Regions from separate parts of the Homo sapiens genome. Here region 1 is linked to region 2. The links are contacts of gene promoters, found by promoter capture Hi-C in human tissues and cell types (Jung and others, 2019). All regions are on one chromosome and are shown on one strand. Each heading gives the region's core, a stretch centred on a gene start or on the middle of the fragment in contact. The rest is flanking DNA. Distances are from core to core; before and after follow the strand shown.

Region 1 (2,700 bases), core at 136-2,635, 99 kb before region 2:
AACAGATCAGTAGGATGGCTAAATCACAGGAAAAAAAGCTTTACTGGTGATATCAGTTGGCAAACCGGAAGAGACAGTCTTTGCATGTGCTAAAGGTGCCCTCCTTCGAGAAGTGAAAGGACAGGTTGGGATTTATGCCTCATAGGTTCCTCATTAGACAATAGAGTCATGCATATTCAGGAGGTTTGTGGGGGAAGCTACACATATTTATGAGAGGAGCTGAATGCATGGACATTGGGTAAGCATATATGTCACATACATCCGGTGCTCACTTTGGGGCAGGGTTTTGGCATTAAATTGAGGTGGCATTTGGCTTTTTACAGCAGTAGGTAAACTATGGGACTCAAAGAAAATTTGTGAGCAATCTCTATGAGCGCTGAAACTGGCTTAAGTTCTGCAGTTGCTTATTAGGAAAGTATGTTTGTTAAGGCTGGTCCTTTGTCCAATCAGAATTGCAGTGGTCTGAGTTGTAAATCAGAGGTAGGCTGGGCACAGTGGTTCACGTCTGTAATCTCAGCACTTTGGGAGGCTGAGGTGGGAGGACTGCTTGAACTCAGGAGTCTGTGAACAGCCTGGACAACATAGCAAGACTTTGTCTTTACAAAAAAATAAAACAAAAAAAGGCCGAGTGCAGTGGCTTATGCCTCTAATTCCAGCACTTTGGGAGGCTGAGATGGACGGATCACCTGAGGTCAGGAGTTTGAGACCAGCCTGGCCAACATGGTGAAACCCTGTCTCTACTAAACATACAAAAATTAGCCAGGTGTGGTTGTGCACACCTGTAGTCCCAGCTACTCGGGAGGCTGAGGAAGGGAATCGCTTGAACCCAGGAGGCAGAACCCAGGAGGCAGAGGTTGAAGTGAGCCGAGATCGTGCCACTGCACTCCAGCCTGGGCAACAGAATGAGACTCCATCTCAAAAAATAAAATAAATAAAAAACATAAAAAGAGTTAGAAGGGGTCTGATAGCTCCTATTGTCAGGAAGTTTAGCAAGTGTGGTTTTTCTTGCAGCTATAGGAATTTAGAAATTTGCCATGTCAGCCAGGCCCTGAACGCTTGACCTGTAGGTAATTGAGTTTTGTTAGAGTCCATCTAAGTTAATCCAGAGGCATCTATTTTGGTCTCTCTGATGACAAAAGTAAATCCTAGACATCATCTTTCATCTGTAAGCATTTCAGTGAATATCTTTAAAAGATAAGGACATGTTTTTCCAAAAAAACCCCACATAACCACTATTTTATTATCACACCTAAAAAATGAGCTCTAAGCCCTTGATCTCTTCAAATATCCTCTGTTCTAATTTCCCCACTTCCCCAATTGTCTTATAATTGTACATATTTTTATATTTTTTTACACTTTGAATCCAAATAAAGTCCACACATTGCAATTGGATCATACCTATGTCTCTTTTATTCTGGGAGATTTTCCCTCCCGCACTCTCCGTCTTTATTTTTCCCACTCCGTTTGTGATTTATTCATCAAAGAAACTAGGTTGTTGATTCTGTTGGGTTTCCCACTGCCTGGATTTTGCTGCTTGCAGCCCTGAGATGTCCTGAAATGTATTTCTCTGTCCTCTGCATTTCATCTTTTATATTTATATATATATATTTATATTTATATATTTATATATAATATATAATTTTTATATATATATATAAAACTTTAAGTTTTAGGGTACATGTGCACAACATGCAGGTTTGTAACATATATATATACATGTGCCATGTTGGTGTGCTGCACCCATCAACTCGTCATTTACATTAGGTATATCTCCTAATGCTATCCCTCCCCCTCCCCCCACCCCACAACAGTCCCCAGTGTGTGATGTTCCCCTTCCTGTGTCCACGTGTTCTCATTGTTCAATTCCCACCTATGAGTGAGAACATGCAGTGTTTGGTTTTTTCTTCTTGCGATAGTTTGCTGAAATGATGGTTTCCAGCTTCATCCATGTCCCTACAAAGGACATGAACTCATCATTTTTTATGGCTGCATAGTATTCCATGGTGTATATGTGCCACATTTTCTTAATCCAGTCTATCATTGTTGGACATCTGGGCTGGTTCCAAGTCTTTGCTATTGTGAATAGTGCCGCAATAAACATACGTGTGCATGTGTCTTTATAGCAGCATGATTTATAGTCCTTTGGGTATATACCCAGTAATGGGATGGCTGGGTCAAATGGTATTTCTAGTTCTAGATCCCTGAGGAATTGCCACACCGACTTCCACAATGGTTGAACTAGTTTACAGTCCCACCAACAGTGTAAAAGTGTTCCTATTTCTCCACATCCTCTCCAGCACCTGTTGTTTCCAGATTTTTTAATGATCGCCATTCTAACTGGTGTGAGATGGTATCTCATTGTGGTTTTGATTTGCATTTCTCTGCATTTAATCTAATCGGGAAAGTCTGAAGACCTGTCAGGTTCAGGCGGGGTTTTCGGCAAGACCACTTCATGGATGATGGTGTGTCCTCCCTTGGGGACATATTATGTCTGATGGTCCCTTTCTTAGATCATATCACTGCTGAATTTGCAATATGATGACACCCTAAATCTGTGATTTCTCCTGTGTTTATGAGCTGAAAGAATTCTGCAAAGAGAGAATGCTCCCAACATTTATTCAAAAAAGGCAGGATGAATGTTCCATCTCACAGTCTGTCCCTTTTTTTTTTTCTTTACAAACCAGTTTTCAAAATCATGAG
Region 2 (2,700 bases), core at 170-2,669:
GCCTAAAGATGAAAAATAATTGAAGATTTTTCTCTCAAAGTTCCAAACTGCACGCATTTTCAGAGATAGAGATGAGACGGAGGCGGGAGCGGGGGGCGGGGGGGGGGGACGGAGGGGGAGGGGGGGAGGGGGGGAGAGAGAGAGAGAGAAGGGAATGAGGTCCCTTCCCCTGAAGCAATCCGGAAGAGCACCTTAAAATGGTCCAACTTGCAGACACGGGAGTCTTTGAAGTTAACCAGAGGTTGCCCCTCTAATGCGCGCTCTGGGGTCGCCGGTGACCCCCTGCGCTCGCCTCCCTGCGACCTCCGCCCCCAGACTTCCGCCCCCTCTAGCTCAGCCTGACCTGATTTAAAGAAAGAAACACCACATGCCCGGGGCAGCTGACCTCCCGCGGCAGCCTCGCAGCAACCCGCACGGCCTGCGGGAGCGCATCCCGGCTCGCGGAGATTTGGAGATTTGCAAGAGGATAGAGGCTACCGCGTCCCCGGGTATTTGGCGCCCGCGGCTTGGCCGTCTGGGTTCGCTAGCCCGGACCTCGGGAAGTGCTCGGCGGATCCCGCTGGCAGTCCCGACGCGCGGGGGTGGAATTTAAACGTTTCCTTCCAGCAAGAGCAGCGGTGTGGGAAGGGATACCACGCAGGGGAGTTCCCGAGCAGGATCTAGATCCCCGCCTTTCACCCTCAAGTCCAGCTCACCCCCACGGACGATCACACCCTCCCCAGGGCCAGGCCCCCTTTCCCCATCCTCCCGAGTCTTCCGCCCCCGACTCGGGAGCGTCCCCATTCCAGGTCCCCCGCGCTCCCCGCGGGCCGCTACCTCGAGGCTCTCCAGGCGGTCCTTGAGGGTCTGCAGCGAGCGGCTGAGCTGCTCCACGACGTGGCCGGGGTCCCGCGGCAGGTCGCCCATAGTGTCCTTGCCCGTGGCCCCCGCGCCGCGCGCCTTGCCGCCCGCCAGCCCCTCGCAGCGCGCTAGCTTGCCCGTGAGCTCGCGGATGGCCTCGCGCTGCGCGCCCAGCGTCTCCTTCTGCTGCACGACGGTCTCGCGCAGCTGCAGCACCGCGGCCCTCAGCTCCTCCTCGGGACTCTGCGCGCCGCCCTGCATGGGCATCGCGGGCAGCGGGCAGCCGGCGTGCACCGCCTCTGGGGGCAGTGCCGTGCACACGAAGCGGCTACCGGGCGCCGGGCTGTCCTGGGCCCCAGCGGCCACGGCGAGCGCCACGCTGGCGGCCAGCAGCGCCAGCATCCCGCCGCCGCTGCCGCGCTCAGCTCGGCATGGGCGAGCGGGCGCCGTCGGGGCGCTCCGCGGGAGGCGCCTTCGCTGCTGGCAGTAGCCGCGCTGTCGTCTCGAGGGTCGCGTGCACCGCGGGGCAGAAGTCTCCTGCCGTCTCACAGCCGCACCCACCGCGCTGCTCGGCACTCTGGCCTGCCGGGTCCGCGCGCCCTTTCTTAAGCTGAGGGGCGGAGGGGGCCGGCGTGTGGGGCGCGCGCCACGAGCTCTGATTGGCTCGGCCGGGTGCGCGTCACGCAGTGGGCGGAGCGGGGCGGGGCGGGGGCGCTTTCCGTTGCGCGCCTGGCGGCCGGGCGGGAGCGTGGGCCGGAGCCTGAGGCGAGAGCGCGAGGTCCCGGGCTCTGCCTCAGGAAAGGAGGCCTGAGGTGGAAAACGACACTGGGGCTCTCGAGAGCCTCGGCTGGCCGTGCCCAGGCGCCCCTCGAACCCACCCGAGGACGCGGGCGTCACAGGCTGAGGAGAAAGTGGGAACCCCTCGGTGTCCCGGTGCCCCTTTCTCAGGGTGGCTTCTGGCGCGGCACGGGGCCTCGCTGCGCGTTTGCCGCCGCCCTCAGGGAGGCGTTTTCTCCAGCAGGAGCAGCCCCCCAGGCGGGACTCGAACCCCGACTGCCATCGCGAGCCACCCCCGCGGCAGGCGTGGGCCTTCTCGTCAAGGCCCGGCCACCTCACTCTCGAGGCGGGAAGGAGCCGCACGACGGCCGCCTCCGGATGCAACGGTCCCCGGGACGCGCTCCATGGCCCCGCCTCCACCCCCCGCGCCAACTCGGAAAACGCTCGGGAAGAATCCCGGGGGCCTCGGGGACCGGGACCAGGACCAGGCGCCGGACGCTGATGGGAAGGAGGGGACACCCGGAGTTAGGGACAAAGTCACGAGGCCACTCGCAGAGCCCTCGCGCGCGTGTTCATCGACTGCCCCCTGGGCGGTGACCTTATTCAGCAAGACCTGAGCTCAGGGGCGGGGTGACATCTAACTGGAGTCATCATGATGGAGCCACGTGGTCCAACAGTGCCCGGTCCTTGTAACCAGGAGGGCCCGCAGTGTCACCACTTCCTCGAAGTGAGGCCACTGCCCTCAGCTTCTTGGAGACAGCAGATATGAGCAGAAACCCCCAAAAGTCAGGAGCAAATTTGTTTCAGAATCTCTCCAAATCTGTGGCTTAAAACAAGTTCAGAGGGATTTTGGTGCACAGCTACAGACTGAGCTGGTTTACTGCACATTTATAAATGGAAATCTTTATTTCTTTTCCTCTCTATGTTTTTAAGAAATCCTGTTGCAAGGTCATTAATCACGTTATCCATTATACCACAAACAAATGGATTTGTCACTTGTGCGCAGAAGCCGAGGTTGATTCTGAAAGCAAATTGTACCAAAATAAATGAAATTATTATGATAATATAAACTAGACTGCAGTG

Evidence for each region. The method cuts DNA at HindIII sites, captures the fragments that hold promoters and counts their contacts. A contact is called where the count stands out against the background at its distance.
Region 1: a contact is called between a fragment that was not itself captured here and the fragment with the promoter of NPTX2 in region 2, in 2 of the 25 tissues and cell types used here (H1 embryonic stem cells and heart left ventricle).

What each region holds. Positions count from the first base shown.
Region 1 is chr7:98,715,234-98,717,933 of GRCh38, reverse strand. No RefSeq gene overlaps it. Among named protein-coding and RNA genes, the nearest start is that of NPTX2, 99 kb to the right of the region's middle. The HindIII fragment of the contact is 6,496 bases long and covers 1-2,700 here.
Region 2 is chr7:98,616,004-98,618,703 of GRCh38, reverse strand. NPTX2 (neuronal pentraxin 2) reads right to left here and starts at 1,419. Exons shown (of 5, transcript NM_002523.3): 1 at 817-1,419. The coding sequence starts at 1,242. RefSeq lists an enhancer at 1-591. The HindIII fragment of the contact is 8,881 bases long and covers 1-2,700 here.